7 separate regions of the Homo sapiens genome follow, and all the other regions are linked to region 4. Evidence: promoter capture Hi-C in 16 types of primary human blood cells and fetal thymus (Javierre and others, 2016). All regions are on one chromosome and are shown on one strand. Each heading gives the region's core, a stretch centred on a gene start or on the middle of the fragment in contact. The rest is flanking DNA. Distances are from core to core; before and after follow the strand shown. Region 1 overlaps RAB5B (RAB5B, member RAS oncogene family). Region 2 overlaps SMARCC2 (SWI/SNF related BAF chromatin remodeling complex subunit C2). Region 3 holds the start of MYL6B (myosin light chain 6B). Region 4 holds the start of AGAP2 (ArfGAP with GTPase domain, ankyrin repeat and PH domain 2). Region 5 holds the start of PYM1 (PYM1 exon junction complex associated factor). Region 6 holds the start of PA2G4 (proliferation-associated 2G4). Region 7 overlaps LOC107984468 (a long non-coding RNA gene).

Region 1 (4,258 bases), core at 1,501-4,000, 1.8 Mb before region 4:
GTTGGGTAAGAAGCGTTCTTTTCAGGGAAAGTGCCTATTGTAAAAAGAACTGAGGGTGCTATGGTGTTGAGCTGAGAGAGATTTGGGTTCAGTGAGGGAGAACTGGGGAAAATGAAGAAGGCTGTATTAATCTAGAAGACTAAGGTAGTTGAAGTAATGGAAGCAGGGCCTGGTATCAGTTATGGGAACTTCTGGGAATGCTGAAGGGTGGGCTGGGGGCTCTGGGTCTTGGGAGTACACACTCTTTTGTTCCCTTTAGTGTTTAGATGTGGTAATTTGAAGCTTTTTAAAACTCCCAGGGTAGGGATGAAGATCAAAGTAATTTTTTTTTTTCCATGACTGTTGGCTGCTCCAAACTCAGCCCCTACACTTTCTGTTGGCCTCATAGCTGGTCTATACTGCAGTCTGTTTCTTAACTTACTGTTTCATGTCCTATGAAAGAGCTAAGAAGTTGGATTGGGGGCATGTTTTGTCCACTTCTTTCCCACTTAATAATGTGGTCTATAGCAAATACCATGTCTCCTAGAACTGAGAATCTATTTCATATCTATTTCATTATCTACATGGGAAAGGGGCTTAGAGATCCTCAGCCATCAGGAGATCTTCTGATCATAGTTGGTGAAACTTTTGTGGGACTTAGACTTGACTTGGGTATTTCCCAGGCAGGTAATGGAGTTAACAGGTCCGAAACTATGCGGTGATATCACTGAGGAAGAGATTTGGGGAAGAGTGAGAAATTCCATTTCAAAAGCTTGGCATCACCCCTTGTTCTTTGTCTACTTCAAAAGCCCAGATTTCTGTGCTGTTAGAAAGTTGGGTCAAACTATGAAGTATCTGGGGAAGATGGTGAGTAGAGAAAAAGATACAGAGGTGCAGTAGCCCACGCCTGTAATCCCAGCACTTTGGGAGGCTGAGACAGGAGGATCACTTGAGCCCGGGAGTTCGAGGGTGCAGTGAGCCATGATCTTCCCACTGCACTCCAGCCTGGGCAACAGAATGAGACCCTGTCTCCAAAAAAAAAAAAGACAAAGATTGCCAAAGCAGAGGAGTGGAGTACCCTCCTCCCCACATATTTTTAATGGTCTGCTAGCCTTCTTAGTCCCTCATAGATTGGAGCCTATTGGATTTTCCCTTACTGTACTTCCTCCTTTTCTGCGTCTCTACCAATATATTTTATCACTACATTTCTTTTTTTTTTTTTTTTTTTTTTGAGACGGAGTCTCACTGCAACCTCCACCTCCCAGGTTCAAGAGATTCTCCTGCCTCAGCCTCCCAAGTAGCTGGGACTACAGGCGTGCGCCACCACGCCCAGCTAATTTTTGTATTTTTAGTAGAGACAGGGTTTTACCATGTTGGCCAGGATGGTCTCAATCTCTTGACCTCATGATCCGCCCACCTCGGCCTCCCAAAGTGCTGGGATTACAGGCGTGAGCCACCACACCCGGCCATCACTACATTTCTTAATTACAAAAGTTAATATGTACATATTTTAAAATATGGAAGGTGTACAGCAGTTTAAGAAGTATAAATCCTCCCACACATACCTTATTCATATTTCATTTAGGAAGGTCAAGGATCAGAGACAGCAAATCAGACTAATCTTGCTTTGCTTTGGGGGATGTGTCACAAAAGGCAATTGTGTTTTCATGTTCTCATCAAACTCTAGTCTTATTCTTTCTACAGTTTTCCCTTCTGGGATGATACTCTGTTATTTATTGTGTTCCTTTCACAGTTCATTTTGTCTTCTACCAAGTCCGACAAGCAGAGGGCTGTACTGTGTGTTATTCACCTTGAGTACACACAAACACACACACCCCAAGTTGTGTGCTGGGTGTCCTAGGAAGTGCCCAAAGAGATGGAACAAAACTTTATGGGGAGAAAGGATCATTTTGGTTGGGATAATTGTTGGCATCTCTGCTAAAGAAAGGAATTTCAGACCCTTATCTCAAATTCATGGTCTCTGGATGTTCATGGTCTCTGCATGTTCACATTACTTGACTATCCCTTTCTTATCCATGATGATGATGGTTCTCCTAAGAGGCCCCTGTATTTGTCTTTCTTTTCTTTTCTTCTATTTTTAGAGACAGGGTCTTGCTTTGTCACTTAGGCTGGAGTACAGTGTGTGTCTTTCTGTAGGGATCTGAGAAGCTCCAAGCTTATCTGGATTTGAAATCGGTTTTCCTCTAAATCTCAGAGTCAGAGTACAGCTGGGGCATTTCATACTACCACCTTATTAATTGAATTTGTCCTTACTAGCTTTAAAAGCCCTCTGTTGTACCCAGCCTTTGTACAGCGCCCATTGGAAACCTCGGTTTTTTCCCCCAAGGAACTTTTCTCACCTGCAAGCCAGTCCTAGAGACAGTTGTGTAGGAGTATGTGTGTGTGTTTTTAGACGGAGTTTCACTTTTGTCACCCAGGCTGGAGTGCAGTGGCATGATCTCGGCTCACTGCAACGTCTGCCTCCTAGGTTCACGCGATTCTCCTGCCTCAGCCTCCAGAGTAGCTGGGATTACAGGCGTGCACCACCACGACCAGCTAATTTTTGTATTATTAGTAGAGACGGGATTTGACCATGTTGGCCAGGCTGGACTCTAACTCCTGACCTCAGGTGATCCACGTGCCTCAGCCTCCCAAAGCACTGGGATTACAGGAGTGAGCCACCGCGCCTGGCCGTGTGTGCGTGTGTGTGTGTGTGTTTTAATCCTATCTAATTTTTCCAACAGTTTTTTGCATCCTAAGAGAGTTTAGGAGTAGAATTATCAATAAGGAATTTCATACATAGACCTGGAGTTGCAAAAATATATTTGGAGAAGAGAGCTTTCCCATTGCCCTTCAAGTCATACCTCATATCTTTTAAAATTTTTTTCCTGGACAATCCCTACTGCATAACATACCTCATATCTTCTAACTCTTACTTTACCTGGGAGCAAATATTGCTTATTGGTATGAATTTTACTTCTGAGAAGGAGGCATAGGGTAGAAGAAGCAAGCGTATAGTTTGCTCCCTAATCCTAAAGCATTTCAGATTGGAAGGTAACCAAAGTGTGAGACAATGAACTTATAATAAGGAAATGCAGCAGCCCTCTTGGAGGAAGGATACCATAAAACCCTACATGGTATACTCCCACTTCCGTTTTGGGAAAGATTTAGCCATTGACTCAACAGTAACTGAACTGAATAAGGAGCTACCCAGGTGAACAAAGTATGTGTACATTTCTGGGCAAGGTTGTAGCTTCTGTTCAGGGACAGTGGGTACCTTTTCAGAGTGTCTCCTGGTTCTGTGGTGTTATGGCTCCTTTTTTTAAACTTGTGTTTCTCAAGTCAGGAATTAATAGATAGTGGCCCAAAGCTTTTGACCGTTCAACATCAACTGAAAATTCAGCGAACTTTGTTTTTAGCTATAGTTGCCTCAGTGTTTGGGTGGGAGGGCCACATATTGGGTGTGATTAGGCCATCTGAGGCATAGTAACGGGTGACAGGAAAAGCAGTTAGCCCATGCGAGTTGCAATAGTACCTTGTGGGCAAGATCCCAAGGGGGCCCTCCATCCAAGGGAGATCACAGAGGAGCCAGGGAGAGAATTGATTCTGAGGCCTATTAAAAATATTCCCAAATGGGGCCGTGTGCGGTGGCATGCGCCTGTAATCCCAGCACTTTGGGAGGCTGAGGCGGGTGGATCACGAGGTCAGGAGATTGAGACCATCCTGGCTAACACGGTGAAACCCCGTCTCTACTAAACAAAATACAAAAAATTAGCTGGGCGTGGTGGTGGGCGCCTGTAGTCCCCCAGCTTCTCGGGAGGCTGAAGCAGGAGAATGGCGTGAACCTGGGAGGCAGAGCTTGCAGTGAGCCGAGATCGCGTCACTGCACTCCAGCCTGGGCGACTGAGCAAGACTCCGTCTCAGGAAAAAAAAAAAAGAACCCAAATGGAATTGAGTAAGATCTGTCCAGATGGTACAGAAAGGGAGGAGTTGATTGGGGGAGAGAAGTAGAATTACTTAGCCTTAATTTAGGGAGCATTTAATGAGCACCTACTAGGGATCAGGCAGCATGCTGTGCTCTGAAGATTTTAAGATAAACTCCCACTTTTAAAGAAGTTCATAGTTTAGCAGAGCAGACAGACACAATTTATATACTGTGATAATGTGATACATACTATTATAGAAATACAGTCTTTTTTTTTTTTTTTTGAGACGGATTCTTGCTTTGCTGTCCAGGCTGGAGTACAGTGGTGCAATCTGTGCTCACTGCAACCTCCGC
Region 2 (3,855 bases), core at 251-2,750, 1.6 Mb before region 4:
TTATGAGGCAAAAATGAAAAAATGTGGCAAAGATGACAAAGTTTAAAAATTTCATGCAAGTTAATTTTAAGCCATTTTTCTCTATTGACTCCCCTACATTAGCCTGTCTACTCCTTGAGTAAAAGGATAATCTCTTCTCCCTCAGCAATTACAGCCTTAGGTACAAAGGCTGAGAGAGGATGCTAAACACATGGGGCTGATTCCCGTGACCCTTTGCATCCCATGGAAAAGGAAGAAGCCTCAAAACACTCCTGAACCATTACCCTAAAAACCAGAAAAAGAAAAGTTCAAAGAAGCCCAATCTTCCCAACCCGCCCCATCCCCATAGCACCTCACCCTACCTGAGGTGTCTTGGGCTGCAGAGGCACCAGCCCTGATGGTGTGTCAGCCAAGACATGGAAGTGAGAGGTAGGCGGAGGCCCCATTGGGGTTGGTCGACTCTCAGCATCCACCTGGTAGTTAATAAGACCCCACTGTTCTAGGAAGGCATGGACCCTGTGCAGAGAGAGGCAGAGACAGGGTCACACGGATAGCCAGAAAGGTGCACGAGGAAGAGGAAAAGTGGGGGGTAGAAGGGGCATAAACCCCCTCCCCACCCAACCCCGGCCTTTTCCTCTGTTCATTGTACTCCTTAAGAAATCTCACCTACTCCAGTTGTTCATTTATCACCTAAATGCCAGTGACACCCAAGTCTACATCTTCAGCCTGGGCCAATCTCTATATCTACCTACCTACCGAACATTTCTTCCTGAATAGCTAGTAAAACTGAACCAGTTTCTTTCTTTTTTTCCCTAAGAGAGACTGAAGTGCAGTGGTGTGATCACCGCTCACTGCAGCCTCCACCTCCAGGGCTCAGGGGATCCTCCCACCTCAGCCTCCTGAGTCACTAAGACCACAGGCACGTGCCACCATGCCTAGCTAATTTTTTTGCATTTTCTCTAGAGATGGGGTTTTGCCATTTTGTCCAGGCTGGTCTCGAACTTCTGGGCTCCAGCAATCCTCCCACCTTGGTCTCCCAAAATGTTTGGATTATAGGCATGAGCCACCACACCTGGCCTGAACCAGTATCTTTCAATTACAGACATGCTCCTTCTTTGTCCTATATTCTACACTTCAGAGAATGCCATTGCTAATCCCTCAAGTCATTCATTCCCCAAACCTGTACTTCACCTTTCTCTAGAGGTGCTTTTTTCTGTCTGCTCCTCTGTGTTCCTTGCTGGCATCTCTACTGTTGCCAAAACACATCCATAGGCAGGCATCCTCATGTACCCCCTTCCCCTCAGCCACAAGACCCACCTCATGATGGCACAGACATCACCCGCTAGGTTTCGGCGGCAGGCGGTAGAGGTAAGATACTCTTGGGGGTTCAGTCGGTAAGTGTCAATCATAAAGTTTCGATAGGCCAGGTAGCTTAGAAGAAAGAGAGAGAGAAACAAGAAGAAGAAAAATAAATGTTTGTTAAAGGGCTAAAGGAAAAAATGGTAAGAGAGCTAATGACTTCTCCTGCATGATAAAGATGGAAAAAAGTAGATTATTTGACTCTACATGCTGAGTGCCTGCTATGTGCTAGATGAAAGGGTTTCAAATATGTCTTACTTTTCCTTGATGGGGTTTTCTTTAAATGAATTATCTCCTTGGCTATACTTAGGGATATTTCATACAATTTTTTTTTTTGAGATGGAGTTTCCCTCTTGTTGCCCAGGCTGGAATGCAATGGCATGATCTTGGCTCATGGCAACTTCCGCCTCCTGGGTTCAAGAGATTCTCCTGCCTCAGCCTCCTCAGTAGCTCTGATTACAGGCATGTGCCACCACGGCCGGCTAATTTTGTATTTTTAGTAGAGACAGGGTTTCTCCATGTTGGTCAGGCTGGTCTCAAACTCCTGACCTCAGGTGAGCCTCCTGCCTCAGCCTCCCAAAGTGCTGGGATTACAGGCATGAGCCACTGCACCTAGCCATTTTATACAATTTTTAAACAAGGAATTAGAAGTTAAGAAAATACTCATTTCCAAACTCAGATGTTAAAAGGAAGTCCTTATTCATGCATATAGCTAGTCAGCATACCACGGTAAAAAACATATGTTTTGAAGTTGAAAAGATCTAAGTTCAAATCCCAGTTCTACCATGAGGACCTTGGCAATTTACTTCGAATTTTTAAACCTCAGTTTCCTCATTTGTAAAATGGAATGTCTGTTGAGAGGTCTATAAAGTACTAGTATAGTGCCTGGCGCATTGTAGGGGCTCAAAAAAATGGCAGCTATCATGTGGTACAGTGTAAAGTTTCAGATCATGGGCCAGATTAAAGGATTCAGATCCTGGTTTTATTTACTAGCTCTGTGACTTTATGCAGGTGACTTGACTCCTCTATACCCTATCTGTCAACTGAAGATGATATCTACCTCTAAGGTTGACGTAAAGATTAAATTACTCAATGTAGGTTGGACATTTAGTATAGTGCCTGGGAGATACTAAGCTCTCAATAGATGCAGGCAATTATCATCATTTACTATTTTTTTTTTTCTGAGATGGAGTTTCACTCTTGTTGCCCAGGCTGGAGTACAATGATGAGATCTTGGCTCACTGCAACCTCCACCTCCCGGGCTCAAGTGATTCTCCTGCCTCAGCCTCCCAAGTAGCTGGGATTACAGGTGCGTGCCTCCACACCCAGCTAATTTTTGTATTTTTAGTAGAGACGGGGTTTCACCATGTTGGCCTGGCTGGTCTCGAACTCCTGACCTCGTGATCTGCCCGCCTGGGCCTCCCAAAGTGCTGGAATTACAGGCGTGAGCCACCATGCCCAGCCATCATTTACTATTTTATACCAAGAGTTCAGTTCCTACTCCAACCCTGCCTGCATGTCATGTTGAATTCATTTCACCTGATCACTACTTTCTTTTCACACATACTGCTTTCTCCAGGAAGAGAAGGAAGAGAGAACCATAGCAAGCTATGAAGAAAAAACACGGAGGGACCCCCAGAGAGGGGAAGCTGTGGAATAGCTGGGAAGAAAACTTGTTCAGTTCTCAGTCTCACCCACCTCATCAATGTGGTTATCTTGAAGTATTCCTAACCAAAGAAGACTGCCATGTCTTATCCAAAGCCAAGCAGGTTTGGCCTGAGGCAAAATCTTTTTTTTTTTCTTGAGACGGAGTCTTGCTCTGTCGCCCAGGCTGGAGTGCAGTGGCGCAATCTCGGCTCACTGCAAGCTCTGTCTCCCAGGTTCATGCCATTCTCCTGCCTCAGCCTCCCAAGTAGCTGGAACTACAGGCGCCTGCCACCACGCCCAGCTAATTTTTTTTTTTTTTGAGACGGAGTCTCGCTCTGTCACCCCGGCTGGAGTGCAGTGGCGTGATCTCGGCTCACTGCAACCTCTGCCTCTCAGGTTCAAGTGATTCTCCTGCCTCAGCCTCCAGACTAGCTGGGACTACAGATGCATGCCACCACGCCCGGCTAATTTTTTTTGTTTTTGTTTTTTTGTTTTTTTTGAGACGGAGTTTCACTCTTGTTGCCCAGGCTGGAGTGCAATGGCGTAATCTCGGCTCACTGCAACCTCCGCCTCCCGGGTTCAAGCGATTCTCCTGCCTCAGCCTCCCTAGTAGTTGGGATTACAGGCACGTGCCACCACGCCCAGCTAGTTTTGTATTTTTAGTAGAGACGGGGTTTCTCCATGTTGGTCAGGCTGAGCTCGAACTCCTGACCTCGGGTGATCCGCCCGCCTCAGCCTCCCGAATTGCTGGGATTACAGGCATGAGCCACCGCGCCTGGTCTTTTTAGTAGAGATGGGGTTTCATCATGTTAGCCAGCATGGTCGCGATCTCCTGACCTTGTGATCCGCCCGCCTCGGCCTCCCAAAGTG
Region 3 (3,796 bases), core at 951-3,450, 1.6 Mb before region 4:
AGCACTTTGGGAGGCACCTGAGATGGGAAGATCACTTGAGCTCAGTTTGAGACTGGGTAACACAGTGAGACCTCATTTCTAGAAAAAAACAAAACCAAAGAAAAATAAGAATATACAAATCACATGCTAAGCAGGGAGAGGAGAGAGGAGAGACAGGCATTTCTCACAGATAATTCACATATATAATCACCCTATGCCCAGTTAAGACCATGTTTCGTCCAGTTCCTGTTATTTATGATCAAGACAGGGATGGCACAGAAAATGAAGGATAGCCTTCCCATCTCTGCAAGGGTCTTAACGTTTTTTCCCTGTACTACTTCTCTATAGAAAATGCTAGAAAGTCAGATGATGCCATAACCACTCATACTTGGCAAAATGCCAAAAATGGGAAAAGGAAAGAAAAAAAATTACAAGAGCCATATTTTGAAATCAATGTCTGCAAAAGTAATGAAAGCCACACAAAGGCATCTATAATGTGGCCCTTTCCCAGTCTTATAACCACTTAAAAATGTATTCCTTCTTCCTCTCCGTCTCTTCACAACACCTATTGATCCTTACTTCATTGATGTAAAATGGGGAAAATATCAGCGACCTCATACCTTGGGAAGATTAAAGGAAAGTTATTTAACAAAAACTTATACAGCACTTATGCTGTGCCAGGCCTATTCTATTTTACACTTTTTTTTTTTTTTGAGTTGGAGTCTCACTCTGTCACCCAGGCTGGAGTGCAGTGGTGCGATCTCGGCTCACTGCAACCTGCCGGGTTCAAGTGATTCTCCGACCTCAGCCTCCCAAGTAACTGAGATTACAGGCGCCCGCCACCAGGCCCAGCTATTTTTTTTTTTTTTTTTTTTTTTTTTTTTTTTTGTATTTTTAGTAGTGACAGGGTTTCACCATGTTGGCCAGGCTGGTCTCGAACTCCTGACCTCAGGTGACCCACCTGCCTCGCCTCCCAAAGTGCTGGGAGGTGTGAGCCACCAAGCCCGGCCCTATTTTACCAATAATAACACTTCGAATCCTCCGAAGAGCCCTATGAGGTAGGTACCATTATCATTATTTTACAGATGAGGAACTGAGGCCCAGGAGAGATAACTAAACCTGCTGAGGGTCACTAACTAGGACCTGGTAGAACCAGGATTTAAATCTGAGTAGGCTGTCTGAACCCCATCCACTTGAGCACCCTCTGAGATAATTTAGCCCCTTCACCGGTACGAGATCTATGGCGGCCTCCAGAAATGGTTGCTAACTTACTATTATCGTTATTTCTGTCGTACAATTCATTTCTACCTTTCCAATAAACTTTCCCCAACCAGTGAACCTCACTTACTGCCCATAAAGTTCACCTGTGCCTCACCACCCTGCCATCGCCCGAGTTTTCTGCTCTGATCTAATCCTCACACGCCTGTGCAGCACCAGCTTCCAACACCAGGTGCACCGCCAGGGTATTTACTGATCCAGTGAGTGAAGGTGGGCCCGGCCGGGCTGGTTCCCATCCTCTGATCAACGCCTAGGGGAACCAGTGAACTCCAATGCTGACCATAAGAGTTTCAGAAAGTAGGGCTGGAAAGCCCAGCCCTCCGCTCAGAGACCTGTGAAGATCGAGGAGGATGGCGCATATGCTGCCGCAGGATGGAAACCTCGATCAGAGAAGGCTGGGGCAGGTGACTGGGCTTAATTGCAAATTTTAACATTTACTTCAGCAACCAGCTCATTAAAAACAAACTACTCTGAGGCCTCTTTTTTTTCTACCAAACCGCGAGAGGAAGCAAAAGAGAGTGCAGCGGTTCTCCCCGGGGCCGTTAAGTGCTTCCAGCTATCTGACCTCCACGCTGCCTGCTGCAGCCTCAATCTTTCCCCAGGTTCTGAGTTCTTTCAGCAGTAGGTCCAGGAAAACAGCCGCCCCGCCCCCTCCACCTCCCGAGACTAGGAGCCCGCCAGGGTTAAGTAGGAGGGATACCCTAGGGGCCCCGCAGGGTTTTTAGGGTTGGGGTGGATTGGAAATTGTTCATTGCCTTTCAGTTCCGGGACATAAAGCGCGCTGGAAGGACACTGAGTCACCAACCACCGCCATGGGCCGGAAGCCACCGCCCTCGCGTCAACTGCAATCTAGAGCGCGGCGCATCCCGTGAGCCCGCGGGGAACTACGACTCCCGGCATGCTCCGCGGCCACCGGAATTAACCCTTCAGGGCTGGGGGCCGCGCTATGCCCCGCCCCCTCCCCAGCCCCAGACACGGACCCCGCAGGGTGAGTTTTTGGGGGCTGAGGAGGGCCATTTTCTTTAAGATTTAGTGGGGGTGCGTGAGTGTGTGTGTGTGTGTGTGTGTCGTGTGTGTGTGATGTATTTTGTAAAAATGGGACAATTTGCAGTCATGAGATTCAGACGCTGTTTTGCGAATGGGAGACCCAGCATCAACCCCGGGGCCTAAGTGGAATCACTGCTATCTTCCTCAGAATGCTACCTAAATCCTTTCCTAATTTACCCCAGAACAAAAGTAGCCTGCAATCCCTCCCCACTCCCAAACGCCCCCCAACTTGGACTCTCTCCCAGCGCCCCTGGCAAGGTTTGTGACCTGGCCCCTGAGTCAGGATTTTTATTATACCCCTGGTTGTGGGGTGAATACTCATGGAGCCATAGGAGCGCCCACATCCTCTTGGATTAGGGAATTTAAGCCGTCTCCCAGAGCCTGCCCTTCTCCTCAGGTGCCACCAAAGGGTCCCCACAGGTTCAGCAAGCACCCTACCTTTTGTTTGTCTTGAATGACCGTGGGCTTGTGGAAGGTTTCTTCCATGGAAGAATGGGTAGCAGATGTTAAACCTGATCTTTGCCCCCACTCCTGCCCCTAAAACAACACTGGGCACAGGAGACAATGAGGGATGTCATACTCCTGTTTTTATGACTATTCTTCCTTTATACTGTGAATAGTTCCAGTTCTTGGCTGGGTGGGGGCTCAGGAACTACAAGTATTAGGGATCATTAGACTCTAAGGTTAACTACCCCTGCTCTTTACAAAGCCATGGTCAGAAGGGAGTGGAGGGGCTGGGCAGATGGGCTTCTTGTTTTTGTCATTGCTCCCAGACCACACTTTAACTTGTTCCAGTTCACACAAGCCTCCCTGGCTGCTACCCCTCACCCCACCCTTCAAGAAGACTAAAGCTGCTGGATCACCTGCTTTGCCTCACCACCCCCATCTCAGTGCCACTGGCAAGCATCCTATCCTCACCCTGGAGGTTAACTACCTCATTCTGGGCAGTCTCTGGCTTCCTCCCCTACCCCTAAAGGAAACATTGTTCTTTTCTGGTCAGCCTTTGGGGATAAGGGGACAGAGGGAAGAAGACCTTGGGGCAGGAGTCCTGAACCATAGGAGGCCAGGGGAGTGAGGGCAGGCGGTTATATCTCTCCTCTACCTCATCTTTGCCACAGCCAACTGGCTCCCTGCCCCTGCCCCCGCCCCTTGACATCCCAGACTCCCTGGCTATTTAAACAGAGATGGGTGCCCCCATCCGCACACTGTCCTTTGGCCACCGGACATCATGCCTCCCAAGAAGGATGTTCCCGTGAAGAAACCAGCAGGGCCCTCCATCTCCAAACCTGCTGCTAAGCCAGCAGCAGCAGGGGCTCCTCCAGCCAAGACCAAAGCTGAGCCAGCTGTCCCCCAGGCCCCTCAGAAAACCCAGGAGCCTCCAGTCGATCTCTCCAAAGTGGTGGTGAGTCTCTGGAAAGTGAAGATAGAATTGGAGGGGGTGGTTTGAGGGTGGGATACAGCCTAGGGGATTAGGGGGTATCTAGAAGGTAGG
Region 4 (4,086 bases), core at 623-3,122:
CAAGTCCTTTCTCCTGTCGCACAATGTAGCTACTCGCCCCGCTTCAGGACTCCTATTCTTTGCCCCAATCCTTGACAGAGGGGTGAGCTTGGTTCATCCGCCCACCCCAGAGAAAAGCTTCCCTAGTTTCCTGGACCTCGCTCCTCCACCCCAAGCTGAGCATTCCAGGTACCCTTCCCTCCCTGTTCTCAAGCCCTGACTCAACTCACTAGGGGAAGCGCGGAGCTCGGCGCCCAGCAGCTCCCTGGACCCGCTGCCAGAAGACAGGCTGGGGGGTCCGGGAAGGGGCCCGGAGCCAGGAGGCCCTCCTGTGCTCTTGGTGAAGATGCCGCTGATAAACTTGAGCATCTTGCGGTCACGAGTGGATGCTCGGCCCCCCTCCCGGCCCCGTTTCAGCCCCGGAGCTGGAGGCTCCAGAGTGATTGGAGGTGCAGGCCCGGGGGGCTGCGCGGAAGCAGCGGTGACAGCAGTGGCTGGACTCGGAGTTGGTGGGAGGGTTAGCGGAGGAGGAGAGCCGGCAGGCGGTCCCGGATGCAAGTCACTGTTGTCCAAGGTCTTACTCTTGCCTTTCCGAGGGGACAACTTCCCTCGGGCTCCAGCCCCAGCCCCGACCCCACCAGAGGTCGAAGCTGTAGAGCCCCCTCCCCCGGCGGCGGCGGCGGTGGCGGCGGCAGAGACCGAAGCTCCAGTCCCGGCGCTGCTCTTTGACCCCTTGACCCTGGGCTTGCCCTCGCTTTCGGGCCATGACAGGCGGCTACCCGCGCCCTTGCCCCCGCCGGCTTTGGCTCCACTCGTGGTCACGGTCTTGCAAGGCTTGGGAGCCGGCGGAGGAGGCGCCACCTTGAGCCTCCGGCTGCCGGTGCCAGGGTGCGGAGAGGATGAGCCAGGGATGCCGCCGCCCGCCCGGCCTTCGGGCTCCGGGCCGCCCCAGCTCGGGCTGCTGAGCAGGGGGCGCCGGGAGGAGGTGGGGGCGCCCCCAGGCTTGGGGTCGGGGCTCAGTCCCCCGGAGAGCGGGGGTCCCGGAGGGACGGCCCAGAGGGAGAGGCGGCGGCCGGGAGCGGGGGAGACTGGGCGGGCCGGACTGGCCGGAGCCGGGGACAGGGCTGGGGGCTCCGCGCCCCCGGTGCCCGCGCTGCTCGTGCTGATCCACAGCGCATCCTGCCGGTGGAAGAGACGTTCGTGCCGCTTCTTGCCCGGCTCCTCCGCGCCTCGGGGGCTGCCAGGATCCCCAGTCTCGGAGCCTCTGGCACCGGCGGCGCCGGCCGCGGCCGCAGACGGAGAAGGCGGCGGCGGAGGCACCGACTCGAGCTTAACCAGGGTCAGCGAGATGAGGTAGGTCGTTGTCCGGCGCTGAAGCGCGCCCGCGCCCCGGCTCATGGGGCCCGGAGACCCCCGAGCTGGGGAGGGGAGGGGACTCCCCCGGACTGCCTCAGGGGGGCCCGGCCATGGGGCCGCCCTGCTCGCTGCCCCCAGCCCCCGGACCCCGCTGAGCCCCCGGCCCGGCTCCGCTGTCGCCGCCGCCTCCGCCGCCTCCGCTTGCGCCCCCCTCCCATCACATGGGGCGCCCCCTCCCCATGCTCCCCGCCCTGCGCCCCCACCCTCTTGGAGCCCCGGGACCTTGGTGCTGCTCCAGGGAGGCGCGCCGGACCGTCCACCCCGGCCTGGGTGGGGGCGCTGAGATGGGTGGGGGAGGGCGGGGAGGACAGTAGTGGGGGCAAATGGGGGAGAGAGAGGAAAAGGGAGCAGAAAAGGGGACCGGAGGCTAGGGGAAACGAACCTGTGCGGGGGAGGCAGGGGCGGGGAATTGGGACTCAAGGGACAGGGGCCGCGGATGCGGTCGGAAAGAGGGTCTAGAGGAGGGTGGGAAGCTAGTGGGGCTGGCCGTGCGGGGGATTCGCAGGGGCGCGGGGAGGATGCTGGGGATGGAGATACAGGAGGCGGCGGGGGAGGAAAGAGGGAACGGGAGGTGGGTGGGAACCCACGGGTCTGGGGTCTGGGAGGGGAGGGGCGTGAGATCCGGGCGAAGAGTCCGGGGGCCTCGCCTGGGCTCGGCTTGGTCCGGATGCGCGCTGTGTCCGGGCGCTCCCCTCACATTGAGGAGGAGGCGGCCCCCAGGCCCCCCCACCCTATCTCCCCCCCACCTTTTCTCCACCAGCACCGATGTCTGCGAGGGCGGTGCAAAATCCAGGGCTGGATTTCTCTCCCAAATCCTGGGCTGGATTTCCTGGGACTTGGACTCACCTCCTCCAACAACCTAGCCCCCTCCTCTCGCGCACCAAGGTTAGGAAGCGCGATTGTGAGGTATGGCATTTAGGGATAAGGGTGAAAATCGATCTATTGGGTGGACAGGGGCCGCGGTAAACAGAGCAAACCCAGGGTCACTGCCAATTCTGGGGAAGATGAAGTGGGAAAGTGGGGGCCCTGAAATCCCTTCCCCCAGGATCTCTTGTCTCCCCCAGGTACCTGGACGGTTCCCGTTCTCATGACCCAGCTCCCTTTCCCACTCACACCACCACATTTAATACTTTGACGGGGCCAAGACTTGAGCTCGACTGTCCCAAAGTGAACTTGGAAAATGTTCCCCAGGGATGGGGACAAACATGGAACTTAGCAGGGTAGGAGAGAAGGGAGAGATCTGAGTGCTGGAGGAGCCCAGGCCACAGGGTAAGTCAAAGGCTCCAGCTCTAGGAGGAGGGAGAAGGATGTGTCTTAGACTGATACCCCCCCATGCCAAAATGCATCCAGTCTCCATAGCAACCGTAGCTCCAAGAGTGCCTCAGAAACAGCGGGCAGAAGCAGAGAGGAATCCGTGTGTATGGTGGGTAGGGGACCAACCGCGGGATGCTGAATTAGTGGAGGCACTGCCCTGACACCTGGCTACCCACAGGTGGAGGATTTCACTCCCCAAGTATAAGGACCCTTCAGTTGAGGCAGTGAGAGCCGGCCTCTTCAGGGTTCCCTTTCAGTCTCCTGAGGTTTGCTGAGTGGGATTCTTTCAGAAGATTAAAGAGGAGGCAGGCAGAGTGAATGGAAACCGTCTGCTCCGTGTCCCCCACCCCTCTAGGGGTCTTGGAGTTCAAGGCTCTCTATCCTCCAGCCAGGTGAGAATCCTGAAGTGGTTAGGCCAAAGTGGAAAAGAGGTTGAGACCCCTTGGGGGTGGGGTAAGATGGGCGAAGGAAGGTCTCTCTGCAGCCTTGGAGACCCCTTCCCGGGACTTGGGGAGTCACAGCAGTCCCCTGATTTGGCGTCCCACCCTCCTGACGCAGCTGAGACTATAATAAGTGCTGCCGTGGGCGGCTCTTGGAGGCAGGAGCCCGCAGCGTGCTTGGCCTGGTGGGGGGCTGAGGGTGGGGGGGCTGAGCCAGGATGCCAGGAGCCCTTTGTTCTCCCAGAGGCCTGTATCCAATCCCTCCAATGTTCTGTCCTGGGGCTCAGCAGTTTCTCCCTCCCTCCCTACAGAACCAAGATGACACCATCCCCAGGACAGGAGACCCTTCAGTAGTGTTTTTTGATGGAGAGGGTGAAGGAGAATTGTTGGCTCTGGCTTAAACTTCCCTCCTTTGATGGCCTCGGTTTTCCTTTATGTTCAATGGGAACAGAATACTAATTCTTAGAGAAGGAGTAAAACAAATCACTTATGAGGAGTGAAGCCTTCTCAGGGATTTCCACCTCCACCCCTCCTCACCCTCCTCCCTCTCCAGAGCTAAGCACAGCTTTTCTGCCTGGCCTAAACCGCTCTTCTCCTTTATTATTATTATCATTATTATTTTTGAGAGGGGTGGGGCTTAGAGTTTCTCCCTAGGAGGCCCCATGGCCCACTCCCCCTTGGTCTGCCTTTCCAAACACTAAGGCTGTCAGGGGAAGCTTCAGGTGTAGTTCCTGGCAAAGGGTATGGGACAGGAGGTGAGAGGGGCACTAGCCTCCGAAGAACAATGGGAAGGGGATCATCAGACTGTCCCACTAGGCATCCAAAGCAAGCTGTTCCTTCCCCAAGTTATACTCTGGTGTACTAGCAGAGAGGTCTGGCAGGAGGTGTCCTTGAGGGAAAGAATGATCTCTTGACAACCACCCAGGTAGGCAGGTAA
Region 5 (4,093 bases), core at 1,035-3,534, 1.8 Mb before region 4:
TTACAGAAACTGCTATAATTGCATGGCAATACCTTCCATGAGGATTAGAGTGACAGTGGTAGATCAATGATCTGGACATAGTAAAGGAAAACAAAAAAGCAGTTTATTCCTTTTTCTCTTCCACATAGTCACGGAAAACAGAAAACAGCTTTTAGTGACAAGGTAAGGTAAGATGTGATACCTGGATTTTCACGGAGTCAGGGTAAAGAAAATGATTAAGAGTAAAGAGAAGTATACTGGATAAGTAGTATTTTCAAAACACACATTAAAAGTTGGTAATTCATGAAGGAGCTACTGGGTAGAGAACAGAAGGAAAGAGGTAGTACCACTTTAAATTGTGAGGTTGGGGAGAAGTAGCAGCAACCTGGGTTGTCATCAGATACCATAAAATAGGTGGGCTGAGGTGTAAGGAACATGGAAAGCAGCAGAGCAAGAAGCAAAATGGCACATTTTAAAACACCGTGTGTACCAAGGCACAGGCACACTGTTGCTTCTACAGACTACAGACTACACATATGAGGGCTACAAAAACAGAAACACTTTGCACTTGCACAGTATTTTATAAATTGCTTTTACATATATTATTTGATCATCATTGAGTAGCTATTACTACTATGCATATTTTCCTAAAGATGAGGCCATTAGGAAGGGACAAAACCATGATAAAAGCTGTGATTCTCCGTTTCCAACACATACACCTTACATACACAGCAGACACTTCAGCATCTCGGCCAGCCAGGCTGCAAATTCTTCTCTAGCCAGAAGGAATAGTGGGTTTTATTCACTTGTCAAAGGGCTTCGGAGAAAAGCCACTAGATACTTTCCTGTTTGCCTTTTCCCACCTTAGACCCCTCAATTTCTATCACCATCACGGGAGAAGGTAGCGAAGGGTGGCTCCATCAGGGAGAAAACTCAAGCTGAAAGTTGTATTAGGGTCCTCTTCCCTTCACACCTCTAAACCTCAGTGACCCAACAAATGAAGATACGGGAGAGGAAAAGGTACTATGTAGAAACGAGGAGGTCTTCAGCAAATAAAGCTTCGAGAAAAATAATGAAAACGGGACTGGGGTAGGGCAGAAACCAAGTATAGCTGAGATGGGGGAGGGGAAAAGAAGGAGGGCAGGAACTGGAGGGAAATGAGAGTGTAGAAGCCCCCAAGCCTGAAGAACCTAAAAGAGATATGAGTGGTCCAACTGCTGGAGAAAAGCTAAGGGCCCGTGAGGGTCCTGAAGCAGGGACCAGCACTGAAGGACCCCAGGGTTTGGGTGACCGGAAGCAGAGACCCCAAACACGAGACCAGAAGGGGGCGCAGGAGACACCCCGTAGGAGAGAATGAATGGGGAAGGCGGTCCGGGGGGCGGGGCAAAGGAGGGGCCCCGGGATGGGCGGGGCACAGACCCCTTTCCAAGTCCGAACCCCTGCCCCGAGAGCCCGGAGAGAAGCGGCTCCGCGCCTCCCGCACTCACCGCCGGTCTCGTCAGTAACATAGGGAGTCGCCATCTTGAAAACGCAAACCACTTCCGGCGTGAGCGGGCTGGGGTCCCGCCCCCCTCCCCACCGGAAGTGGAGTCCCGATCGTAGCAAGCCACCATCTTAGTCTTAAAGGGAGAGTGCACCATTTCATGGGCGGAGGTGGAGGAGGAGGAAGAGTGGAGAAGCTGAAATAGTTAATAAAATAAAGCCGTGGGCTTTTTACTGCCACCGATACCATTACTGAGCGCTTGCTGCCTGTAAAACAGTCCTCAGGGAGCCAAGAGAAGTTCCGAGGCACAGTCCCTCTCATCCCCAGGAACTCCTCGTACGTCCAGGACCTGCGAGGGAAAAGGGCGCAAGGCCCACCTGCACCCAAAAAGGGGGCCTTATAAATGAAGAAAGGAAGAATATCCAGGCTCTGGCCTGCACCCAGATCTCAGAGCGGCTTGGTGACGTGGAGCAGACAAACTCCAGGAACGCACTGGGGCGCACAAGTGTTTCTAGGGACGGTTGGAGACCCTATCTAACCCTAAGAAGGTGGGGAGGTCGAATTCGTGTGCCGATTGCTGTCGGCCAACCCACTCAACCACCAGAGACCCGCGGGAGGGGCGTGCAAGGCGGAGGGCGCCGCGGGTCGGTCACCTGTCTCCGTAGCCGCAGGGCTGCCGGCAGCTTCCATGGCCGAAGAGGCAGCGGACCAGGTTGGGCGGGCGGCCCTGGCCTGGCTCTGCCCCGCTGGGCGGCGCCGGGGATTCGGCGGCGAAGTGATGAGGGCCCTAGTTGCTTCTCGCCCAGACCTCCTAACCCTGAGTGCCTCCTCGGGCTGGGCCCTAGGGTCAGAGGGCAGGGTGAAAGCTTCTGGGCGGACCTACTTAGTATTCTAATTAAACTCGTCCAACCGCTGAGGATCTAAAGCGGGGCAACTCGCCAATAATCCGGTCCCGTAGTGTCACTCCATTTGTAGTCCTGCCCTGCGCCGTACCTCCCTATTCTGCAGACGAACCCATATGGTCTCCCTCCGCCGCCCATTTCAGCAACTGTTGTTCCTTCAGGGCTAAGTCCTGTTAAACTTGTTTCCCCTACAGCCTGAGAGGAGCCCGGCTGCAGGTTCCTCTCCTCAGGTGTCAACTCTGCCCTCCTCCACCCTCATATAGCTTTTTCCTTATCAACCCTTTTACCTTCCTGCTTATATCCCCACTTTGGCTTAGTTTAATGTCCAGCAGTACCCCTGGAACCAGGGAGGAGGCAGGAGGTAAGTATTGGTGACTACCTCCAACACTAGGCAGCATGTCCCATTTAAAAAACAAAACAAAACCCAGGCGCGGTTGCTCACGCCTGTAATCCCAGCACTTTGGGAGGCCAAGGCGGGTGGATCACGAGGTCCGGAGTTCAAGACCAACCTGGCCAAGATGGCGAAACCCCGTCTCTACTAAAAATACAAAAAAATTAGCCGGGCGTGGTGGCGGGTGCCTGTAATCTCAGCTACTCGGGAGGCTGAGGCAGAGAATTTCTTGAATCTGGGAGGCGGAGGTTGCAGTGAGCCAAGATCGCTCCACTGCACTCCAGCTTGGACGACAGAGTGGGACCCCGTCTCAAAAAAAAAAAAAAAAAAAAAAAAAAAAAACTAAAAAACTGAGCAATGGCTGACTAGGACCTTTATAAGACAAATTAGGCCTCAGAAGTTTTCTGGGGGCCGCAGCTTGCCTTCCTTCCCATCCTCCATGTCTGTGACTTCCACTAGAGGCCAATTCAGAATGTCTGGGGGTGGGGCTCATTTAAAAAGTATTTCCAGGCCGGGTGCGGTGTCTCATGCCTGTAATCCCAGCACTTTGGGAGGCCCAGGTGGGCAGATCACTTGAGGTCAGGAGTTCGAGACCAGCCATGGCCAACATGGTGAAATCCCATCTCTACTAAAAATACAAAAATTAGCCGGGTGTGGTGGCGAGTGCCTGTAATCCCAGCTACTCGGGAGGCTGAGGAATGAACCTGGGAGGTGGAGGTTGCAGTGAGCCAAGATCGTGCCACTGCACTCCAGCTTGTATTATAGAGCAAGACTCAGTCTCAAAATAAATAAATAAAAAGTATTTGCATACGATACACTGTTATTGCAAGTGTTGTGACACTGTGGTCTTAAACCCTTGCTCTCTTTTCACCGATTGTACTTCAGCCCTGCAGGGTCTAACATCTTGTCCTTAACCTTGTTATGATTAGACGTGAGAGTGTGGGATGAAGCCTCTAAGAACTAATGGGATACGTTGGTCTTGACTGAACTACCTCAGGAGTGGTCTCTGCAGCTTTCAGAGGCTGCTCAATAGACCTTTGTGCAGGAGGGAAACCTAAAGTCGCCCCTGTTCACTACCAACCCTAGGCCCCCTTCCCACCCCCAGACATCCTGCCTCAGCACTAGGGTTGACAGGAAGTGAAACTCAATTGTCTGCTTAGTAGACCTGCCTGGGACCCAACCCGGGGCCCCGGATGTGGCCCCCCACCCTGAGGAGGAACAGGGCAAAAAAGGCCGGGGAGAACAGGCTGTTGTTTTTTCCTTTCCCTTTGTTCATTGCGGTTTCTTTCTTTCTGATTTTTATGATGTGGTTGATTAAAGAAATGAGCACCTGGAACC
Region 6 (4,068 bases), core at 669-3,168, 1.6 Mb before region 4:
AAAACAATTCTGTGACATACATATTATCTCATTTTACACAAAGGGAAGTCGGGCATGGTGGCTCATGCCTGTAATCTCAGCACTTTGGGAGGCTGAGGCAGAAGGATTACCTGAGGCAAGGAGTTTGAGACCAGCTTAGCCAACATAGTAAGACCCCCATCTCTTTAAAAAAAAAAAAAAAAAAAAAAAAAAAACTTTAGAACTGGGTGCAGTGGCTCATGCCTGTAATCCCAGCCAGCACTTTGGGAGGCTGAGATGGGAAGATCACTTGAGCCCAGAATTAGAGATAAGCCTATGGAAACATAGCAAGACACTGTCTCTACAGGGGAAAAAAAAAAAAGAAACTGAGCCTTAAAGAGATGAAATAAATTAAGCAGTAGATCCAGGATGCAAAATCCTCCCAATTCCTGTGCATGTGCTCTTATTGTAAGGTGCCAAGAAAAACTGATTTAAGTTACAGCCCTTGTTTAAGGGGCACTGTTTCTTGTTTTTGCACTGAATCAAGTCTAACCCCAACAGCCACATCCTCCTATACCTAGACATCTCATCTCAGGAAGTGGTGGTGGGGGTAGTCAGAAGGAAAAATAACTGGACATCTTTGTGTAAACCATAATCCACATGTGCCGTAAATGATCTTCACTCCTTATCCGAGGGCAAATTCACAAGGATCCCCAAGATCCACTTTTAGAAGCCATTCTCATCCAGCAGTGAGAAGCTTCCAGGTAGGACAGAAAAAAGATCCAGCTTCAGCTGCACACCTCTGTCCCCTTGGATGGGGAACTAAGGGAAAACGTCTGTTGTATCACTGAAGTTTTTTGTTTTGTTTTTATACGTGTCTGAATAAAAATGCCAAAGTTTTTTTTCAGCTTCCTGTCTGTCAAATGAAGACATTTCGTATGTTAGATAAGAGATCTGCTCCTCAGCAGTGGATACTCACCTTTCTGTGTTCTGACAGTGCTACTCTGTCCCATGCAGCTTTCTCTAGTCCTACTATTACTTCTATTTCTTTAGAACAACCATAGCGCATAGTCCTTTTCATTAAGGGTTTTAGTAGGAATCTACAAGGCAACCAATTGGGAATAACAAAAAGAACCTACGTGCTTTAGGACTTATAAAAAGCCCTATAAGCCCTCCTTCAGAGGCCAAACACTGAAACCTCCAGATGCTTCTGAATTCATTATCTTAGAAAAGTCATCAAATCTTTTTATTTTTTCACGGTAAGAACTCTCAACAAACATGTCTTTCTGAACACTTCCCTTAGGTGCTCCATCCAGGTGCCTGTTATTGGAACAATAAAGTCATGTTACTTCATTAGGAGTCCGGCCTCTAGATTGCGAGGCCTTTAAATGGATGATCCCTCCGGTGTCTGGCTGCCCAGTTAGCCCCCGTTACCAGCACCCTTGGTCTTCTTCCACCTGTCTGCCCCTCCCTGTTCTCCCAGCTTCGGAGGACGACTGGACCGGCTGGGCGGGTTTCGCCAGCCGACCCAGGGATCCGAAGAAGGGCGCACCCAGCCTCCCCGACCTAGGTGTAGACACTGCCCACCCGCTGCGGCTCCACTCTACTCCACCCCTGCCCGCTCGACTTTAAACCTATTTCCCCGCCGTAGCTCCGCCCCTCTCCCCTCAGCCCGCCCCTCTCTGTTACTGGCTCTCGCTCAGCGTTCTCGGTGGAAGTGGTTTTTCCGGGAGAGACCACGCTTCCCCTCAAGCTCCCCAACGGCTCCGCCTTCCCGCCGGAGCCTGACCCTTCCCAGAGTGCCCGGCGATTCCGGCGTGCGAGGCCCTTGGAGGGCAAGGCCCCAGGGCCTGGCTTAGGAGCGCGAGAGGCAGGCTGGGAATTGTAGTTCGAAGGCCCTCGAGAGCGGCTAGAGTCTGGCGGCCGAGAGGACTAGTTGTCCCAGCGTGCCCTGCGCCTCAGCCCGCGCGCTCGCAGCTTCTCGCTCTCGCCTGCCTGCCCGCTCCCTTGCTTGCTCGCGCTTTCGCTCGCCCTCTCCTCGAGGATCGAGGGGACTCTGACCACAGCCTGTGGCTGGGAAGGGAGACAGAGGCGGCGGCGGCTCAGGGGAAACGAGGCTGCAGTGGTGGTAGTAGGAAGATGTCGGGCGAGGACGAGCAACAGGAGCAAACTATCGCTGAGGACCTGGTCGTGACCAAGTATAAGATGGGGGGCGACATCGCCAACAGTGAGTGCGGCCTCGGGGGTCGGGGAATCAAGGCTGATAGGGAAAGGTAACAGGCTGGCCCGGAAGGGGCTGGAGCGGAGGGGTCATGCGGACTGAGCTACTGAGGGGCCCGCACCGGTCCGCTGGGCACGGCGTGGTGGGAAGACCCGGTGTCGCGCCTGGGACCTGAGCGGGCAGGCCCAGGCTGAAGTCTATGGAGGTGCGGGTCGGCGACCAGGATGAGCGCAGAGAGGGGACCCTGGCAGGCTCCGACCCGAGGCCGTTTGTTAGGAGGCAAGACGTGTTTTCTCTTGTTCCTATCCTTCATTCCCGATTATTGCTTCCTCTGATTCTGGCAGCGGCGAGGCCACCTCGAAAAGGAAGCGCCCAGCTATTGGCGACAGAAGTGCCCCTCTGTTTTTGTAGCGTCTCCGGGGCGTCAGGAGCCAAGCCGGCACGTGTTGCTGGGTCCCATTGCGGATGGCTGGCCCCCTTCTTACTCCGCTAGTGTCCCTGACACCAGCTTCCCCACCACCAGCTTCCCCACCACGTGCTTTGCTGGAGCCTTTCCTTCTTTACTTCAGCTCTTACCCTGGTGGGGGCCCCCTTCTACCTTGGGCCAGCTAAGGAGACCGTTGGAGAGCACTCCTGGAGCTTCTAATGCAAGTCTTGGAGATATATATGGCTTTTCTTGAAGTTACTCATTACTACCACCTTTCCAATCTGTGCAGATAGTCTTAGTTAGCATTCACATTTGTTGTTCTCAGTGACTTGACAACTCAAATGTTTTGGGGTCTCCGTCTTATCCCAACTAGGCAAGCTTGTGAACATTACTGGAAAAGGGAGGACTGATTTTAGGATTTTCACAAGTCATCCTTACTCCAGGTGTGCTCTGACGATCTCAGCAGTTGCCTGTCACTCTAGGCAGATGCCACTTTCTCTTTTCTCTCTTTCCAGTTAGCCTTTCCATTTTATTCCAGTTAGGGAGATACAAACTGCTTGTCATTGTGCTTTTAAATGGTTTTAACAGCAAAGATGGTGGGGAACAGGTATTTAGGATGCCTCCCGTCCTGTGGGTGAAAATCTGAGTTTTACCAGCTTTCAAAGAATCACCAAAACTGAGATACCAAAAGTCAAACCTGTGCTTTATATCACAGTGGACATTTAGTATCGTACCCTGGTTTTTGGTGCCTTTTAGTATTTGAGATACTAGTGGTTTGAATCAGAAAATCTCTTACAGTTTATAACTTTGGCCTCATATTTCTTTTAGATAAGCCATGATCCCCCGAAATGAAACCCAGGGACCTTAGATTAAGTTTCCTTGGCTTATGCACTTGTTTATGAGGAAATAAGTCTATATAGATTGAGATTCCTAACACCTAATTAGAGTGTCTGAGAAAGGAATGCGGTAACATTTAACAGTGCATCGGCTTCGAGTCAGCAATTCTGTCTACCTTCTTGTCCCTGATGCCTATAAATTTCATCTAGTCTTTGCGTGTATGTGGGGATACCATGGCAAGAACCCTCTGAAGTTCATAACTCTGTCCTGTCACACCAAAGGTAGCATCTTTGGAAAGTCTGAGGCCTTGCCTAGGGAGATGGATTGTATATACCCAGTTGTCACATAATGTAAGGAAGAGAAGGGAATGTTGACCTTTCAGCCTCAGGGCAATGGCACCAGGGAGTATTATGGAAACTCTTAAATTCAACTTCCAGGTATTCCTTGGGTGGTAACTAGACAATGAATACATACAAGGCTGACATGATGGGATTCTGTCCTCAGGGGTACTTCGGTCCTTGGTGGAAGCATCTAGCTCAGGTGTGTCGGTACTGAGCCTGTGTGAGAAAGGTGATGCCATGATTATGGAAGAAACAGGGAAAATCTTCAAGAAAGAAAAGGAAAT
Region 7 (4,125 bases), core at 936-3,435, 1.5 Mb before region 4:
GCTCTGTCGCCCAGGCTGGAGTGCATTGGTGCGATCTCAGTTCACTGCAACCTCAAACTCCCAGGCCCAAGCAATCCTCCCTCCTCAGTAGCTGGGACTACAGGCATGCACCACCACGCCCAGCTAACTTTTTGTATTTTTAGTAGAGACGGCGTTCTGGGATTTCGCCATGTTGCCCAGACTGGTCTCAAACTCCTGGACTCAAGCAATCCGCCTGCCTCAGCCTCCCAAAGTGGTGGGATTACAGGTGTGAGCCACTGTGCCTGGCCAAGGATGTTCTTTTTGTATTTCTTGCACAGCCTTTTGTCCAAAAGGAATCCCAAAGGGCAGGGGGCTCTAGGGTAATACATAGAGCTTTCTACACATTTATACCTTAGAGTTTCCCACCTTCATACCACTGCTCAGGCTGTTATTTCCAGCATGACCCTCACATTGCCTCCCTGTCCCTCACCATTAACACTTTCCAAAATTCTTTAGGCCCCTCCTCTTTGATGCTCTTGATCACTCCAGCTGCCTGTCAGTCTACCACCACCACCATTCACTAAATTGCATGCAAGGACTTCTCCCTTGATATGCTAACATAAAAATAAAATAAAAACAGGGGTGGGTGTGGTGGCTCACGCCTGTAATCCCAGCACTTTGGGAGGCTGAGGCAGGCGGATCACGAGGTCAGGAGTTCAAGACCAGCCTGGCCAATGTAGTGAAATCCCATCTCTACTAAAAATGCAAAAATTAGCTGGGTGTGGTTGGCGGGCGCCTGTAATCCCAGCTACTTGGGAAGCTGAGGTAGGAGAAATCACTTGAACCCAAGAGGCAGAGGTTGCAGTGAGCCAAGATCGTGCCACTGCACTCCAGCTTGGGCGATGCAGCAAGACTCTGTCTCAAATAAAATAAAATTAAAATAAAATAGAAACAGGTTCCATTTATTTTACCTTCTAAATATGTCTCAAATATGCTCACTTTTCTCAGGGGTGAGTGCAGGCTGAGCTAGAGCCTTCATTTGGAAGGTAGTGGTATTTGTGAGCACCATACGAGGTAATATATAGAAAACTGCACTAAAGCATCCACACTGCAGTCCGGGACCTTAAACCCTTCTATGGCTGCTTTCTGTGTTGCAGGATATGACCCCTTTTCTCTCACCACTCTTCCATATTCACTACATTCTGTCCACTGGCATTCTTTTAGTTCTTCCTGGTAGTTATTTAGCCTTGCTCATGGTGTTCTCTGCCTGGAATAATCTTTCTCTTCCACACTTTCTACTCATTCTCCACCTAAATGTTGGTTCTCCTGTGGAGTTTTCTCTGACCACTTGTTGCCTACCACATCCTATGCTCTCAACTTATTATGTGAAGTCTTTCTTCCCCTGTGGCATATAAACACATTAAACACAGATAAGGAGTCAGTTTTTAAAATTTTTTTGCATAAATGGGTGTTTTTTACAGTAGTTATGTGTACATGTTTTAATCTTTAGACTGGTATATAAGCTTCTTGAGAGTTAGGGCTGTGTATTTTATTTATTTGTATCTTCTCTACAAGGCCTTATAGATGTGATCAACTATGTGTTGAATGAATTTATAAAATCTCATAGGCTCATGATTCTCCTTCCTACCAAATCCCAATTTGCACAGGTTCTCATATTTAAATATCTGGAGAGCCAAGACCAGAATTGACCAGCAGAGGGCAACCAACAACTATGTTGTGAAGGGAAGAAGGCTCCATGGTTTACAAAATGGAGGATCTGGACCAAGAAGGGAAATATGGCAGAGGTAGTTTGCTACTTGAAGTTCATCCCTTTTACTCTCAAATGCTTCTCTTGTAACTTTTGTGGGTGAGAGGCCGAGGCTTCAAACCTTCATATACAATAGATCATTTTAAATTTCTACCATCCCCATGTACCCACCCCATCTCCCCAATTCCTTCACCCTTCCTCTTCCACTCCAACAAATCCTAACTATTCTTTTACCTTTCTTTACCTTGCATGATCTGGCCCCCTCTCTCTCACCATTCTTACATATTTACATATCACCCACTGGCATTCTTTAGTTCCTGCTACAGTATGTGGCCTTCCATATTTTCCCTGAAGTAACCTTCTCCACTTAAGCCTGTAGTCCCACTCATTTAAACCTCCTAAGGAACCTTCCATAAATATCCTTCCATAACACCTTAAAATTCCTCTACTCCACTGGATCAATCCTTCATGAATTCAGTACAAACAAAACCCCACCTTCATTTGACACTTTCAAATTTCCACATTGTTTTCTACTTCCTTTTATTTTTCGAATAAAATGTATACCTTTCTGCCTCCAGTTCCATACTATCAGATACCCCGTCATCTGGTTTCTGCCTCCTGAAGTGTTTTGGTTTTTTTTTCTTTTTTACTTTTTTACTTTTTATTTTTTTTTGAGACAGAGTCTTGCTCTCTCACCTAGGCTGGAGTGCAGTGGCACAAGCTCGGCTCACTGCAACCACCACCTCCCAGGTTCAAGCAATTCTCCTGCCTCAGCCTCCCAAGTAGCTGGTATTACAGGTCCCTGTCACCATGCGCCTGGCTAATTTTTTTTTTTTGTATTTTTAGTAGGGACGGGGTTTTGCTATGTTGACCAGGCTGGTTTTGAACTCCTGACCTCAAGTGATCCACCTGCCTCAGCCTCCCCAAGTGCTGAGATTACAGGTGTGAGCCACCGCGCCCGGCCTCCTGAAGTTTTTTAGACGTTAATAGAAACCACTGGACAAATTTAATAATCTCTTCTCAGTCTCCATCCTTTCTGTGTTTGAAACAACATTGATTTCTTACTGGCCTTCAGAAACACTTATTGTTTTTCTCCTTCTCAGTATACTGCTTCTCCACCTCATTTGCTTTCTTCTTCCTCCTGTGGAATTTCCACCAAAGCTTCATTCTCCCGAGACAAAATCTCAGAGCCACCTTTCCAGGTATGTCCTCAGCTAAACCATGGTCCTTTATCTCCAGCTGTTCACATCTCTGCACAGCTGACCTAGTGTCACCTAATATGCAAACAAAGCTTCTCTTCCTCTCTCACAATCATCGTTCTGAACTTTTCCCACTTTTGTTGATACCACTATTCACTCAATTCCTTCATTTCCAGCTCTAAGAATTAATTATCTGAAGTTTGTTTTCTCCCAAGCCCATCACACTGATTCATCAGTTGCTTCCCCAAGCACATCATCTTAATTCATGCCTGTTACGATGGCCTTCAAGGTGCCCTAGTTTCACCACACTGAAATCCACCCTATATTAGTGTGATTACACTGCTTTCATCATATTATTCCCCTGTCCAGGAACTCAGTTCCCCATCTAAACAAACACATGATCCTATTATCAACATACCCTGCCTAAATTGCCCGTTTTTCTTACCCTTACATCTTTCCACTAAGATACCTTCCATCTAATCTGGCTGGTCATCTCCGTGTGACAGCCCAACCCCTGCCATCCCTCATGAAGTTCCTTCTCTTTACTAACTAGGTAGTCTCACCATATAATGATCTTTTCAGCAATAAATTCTTAGATCTTAAAAGTATTATTATTTTGCCTGGACACGGTGGCTCACGCCTGTAATTCCAGCACTTTGGGAGGCCGAGGCGGGTGGATCACCTGAGGTCAGGAGTTTGAGACCAGCCTGGCCAACATGGTGAAACCCCGTCTCTACTAAAAATAAAAAAATTATCCGGGCATAGTGGCGCATGCCTGTAATCCTAGCTACTCAGGAGGCTGGGGCACGAGAATCGCTTGAACCCCGGAGGCAGAGGTTGCAGTGAGCCGTGATCGCACCACTGCACTCCAGCCTGGGCGACAGAGTGAGACTTTGTCTCAAAAAAAAAATTAGTCTCACTTTGTCGCCCAGGCTGGAGTGCAGTGGTGCGATCATGGCTCACTGTATAACCTCTGCCTCCCAGGGTCAAGGGATTCTCCTGCCTCAGCCTCCCGAGTAGCTAGGATTATAGGCGCACGCCACCACACCGCCTTATTTTTGCATTGTAGAGACAGGATTTTACCATGCTGCCAGGCTGGTCATGAACTCCTGACCTCAAGTGATCCTCTCACCTCGGCTTCCCAAAGTGCTGGGATTACAGGCATGAGCCACTGGGCCTGGACTTAAAATTATTTTT

Evidence for each region. The method cuts DNA at HindIII sites, captures the fragments that hold promoters and counts their contacts. A CHiCAGO score of 5 or more calls a contact.
Region 1: a fragment that was not itself captured here is called in contact with the fragment with the promoter of AGAP2 in region 4 in 1 of 17 cell types (monocytes); the score reaches 8.9 in monocytes.
Region 2: a contact is called between a fragment that was not itself captured here and the fragment with the promoter of AGAP2 in region 4, in 1 of 17 cell types (monocytes). The highest score is 6.9, in monocytes.
Region 3: a contact is called between the fragment with the promoter of MYL6B here and the fragment with the promoter of AGAP2 in region 4, in 1 of 17 cell types (monocytes). The highest score is 9.0, in monocytes.
Region 5: a contact is called between the fragment with the promoter of PYM1 here and the fragment with the promoter of AGAP2 in region 4, in 1 of 17 cell types (monocytes). The highest score is 5.5, in monocytes.
Region 6: a contact is called between the fragment with the promoter of PA2G4 here and the fragment with the promoter of AGAP2 in region 4, in 1 of 17 cell types (monocytes). The highest score is 7.8, in monocytes.
Region 7: a contact is called between a fragment that was not itself captured here and the fragment with the promoter of AGAP2 in region 4, in 1 of 17 cell types (monocytes). The highest score is 5.4, in monocytes.

Annotation. Positions count from the first base shown.
Region 1 is chr12:55,974,603-55,978,860 of GRCh38, forward strand. All of the region lies in intron 1 of RAB5B (RAB5B, member RAS oncogene family), which reads left to right. Among named protein-coding and RNA genes, the nearest start is that of RAB5B, 2.7 kb to the left of the region's middle. The HindIII fragment of the contact is 1,194 bases long and covers 2,154-3,347 here.
Region 2 is chr12:56,173,355-56,177,209 of GRCh38, forward strand. It overlaps SMARCC2 (SWI/SNF related BAF chromatin remodeling complex subunit C2), which reads right to left. Exons shown (of 29, transcript NM_001330288.2): 16 at 1,297-1,410; 17 at 342-495. Among named protein-coding and RNA genes, the nearest start is that of SMARCC2, 14 kb to the right of the region's middle. The HindIII fragment of the contact is 6,713 bases long and covers 1-3,855 here.
Region 3 is chr12:56,150,387-56,154,182 of GRCh38, forward strand. It overlaps MYL6B (myosin light chain 6B), which reads left to right and starts at 2,201. Exons shown (of 8, transcript NM_002475.5): 1 at 2,201-2,245; 2 at 3,487-3,706. The coding sequence starts at 3,533. LOC124902942 reads left to right here and starts at 1,441. Exons shown (of 3, transcript XM_047429954.1): 1 at 1,441-1,661; 2 at 2,020-2,245; 3 at 3,423-3,511. The coding sequence starts at 1,608. The coding sequence ends at 3,457. MYL6B-AS1 (MYL6B antisense RNA 1) reads right to left here. Exons shown (of 3, transcript NR_186043.1): 3 at 410-599. It overlaps LOC124902943 (a long non-coding RNA gene), which reads right to left and starts at 3,487. Exons shown (of 2, transcript XR_007063328.1): 1 at 2,743-3,487. RefSeq lists an enhancer at 1,275-1,354. The HindIII fragment of the contact is 15,658 bases long and covers 1-3,796 here.
Region 4 is chr12:57,736,870-57,740,955 of GRCh38, forward strand. It overlaps AGAP2 (ArfGAP with GTPase domain, ankyrin repeat and PH domain 2), which reads right to left and starts at 1,873. Exons shown (of 19, transcript NM_001122772.3): 1 at 210-1,873. The coding sequence starts at 1,377. RefSeq lists a silencer at 1,026-1,245. The HindIII fragment of the contact is 3,748 bases long and covers 116-3,863 here.
Region 5 is chr12:55,925,610-55,929,702 of GRCh38, forward strand. PYM1 (PYM1 exon junction complex associated factor) reads right to left here and starts at 2,285. Exons shown (of 3, transcript NM_032345.3): 1 at 2,116-2,285. The coding sequence starts at 2,152. It also overlaps a transcript of DGKA not described here. RefSeq lists a silencer at 1,227-1,376 and enhancers at 1,395-1,975, 1,467-1,686, 1,727-1,896, 1,976-2,556. The HindIII fragment of the contact is 1,291 bases long and covers 1,036-2,326 here.
Region 6 is chr12:56,102,641-56,106,708 of GRCh38, forward strand. It overlaps PA2G4 (proliferation-associated 2G4), which reads left to right and starts at 1,919. Exons shown (of 13, transcript NM_006191.3): 1 at 1,919-2,185; 2 at 3,948-4,068. The coding sequence starts at 2,098. ERBB3 (erb-b2 receptor tyrosine kinase 3) reads left to right here. Exons shown (of 28, transcript NM_001982.4): 28 at 1-865. LOC105369782 (a long non-coding RNA gene) reads right to left here and starts at 1,779. Exons shown (of 2, transcript XR_944995.4): 1 at 1,648-1,779; 2 at 1,174-1,278. RefSeq lists enhancers at 1,614-1,963, 1,974-2,193. The HindIII fragment of the contact is 2,269 bases long and covers 714-2,982 here.
Region 7 is chr12:56,191,465-56,195,589 of GRCh38, forward strand. LOC107984468 (a long non-coding RNA gene) reads left to right here. Exons shown (of 2, transcript XR_007063330.1): 2 at 1,629-3,553. Among named protein-coding and RNA genes, the nearest start is that of TRS-CGA4-1, 3.2 kb to the left of the region's middle. The HindIII fragment of the contact is 1,406 bases long and covers 1,483-2,888 here.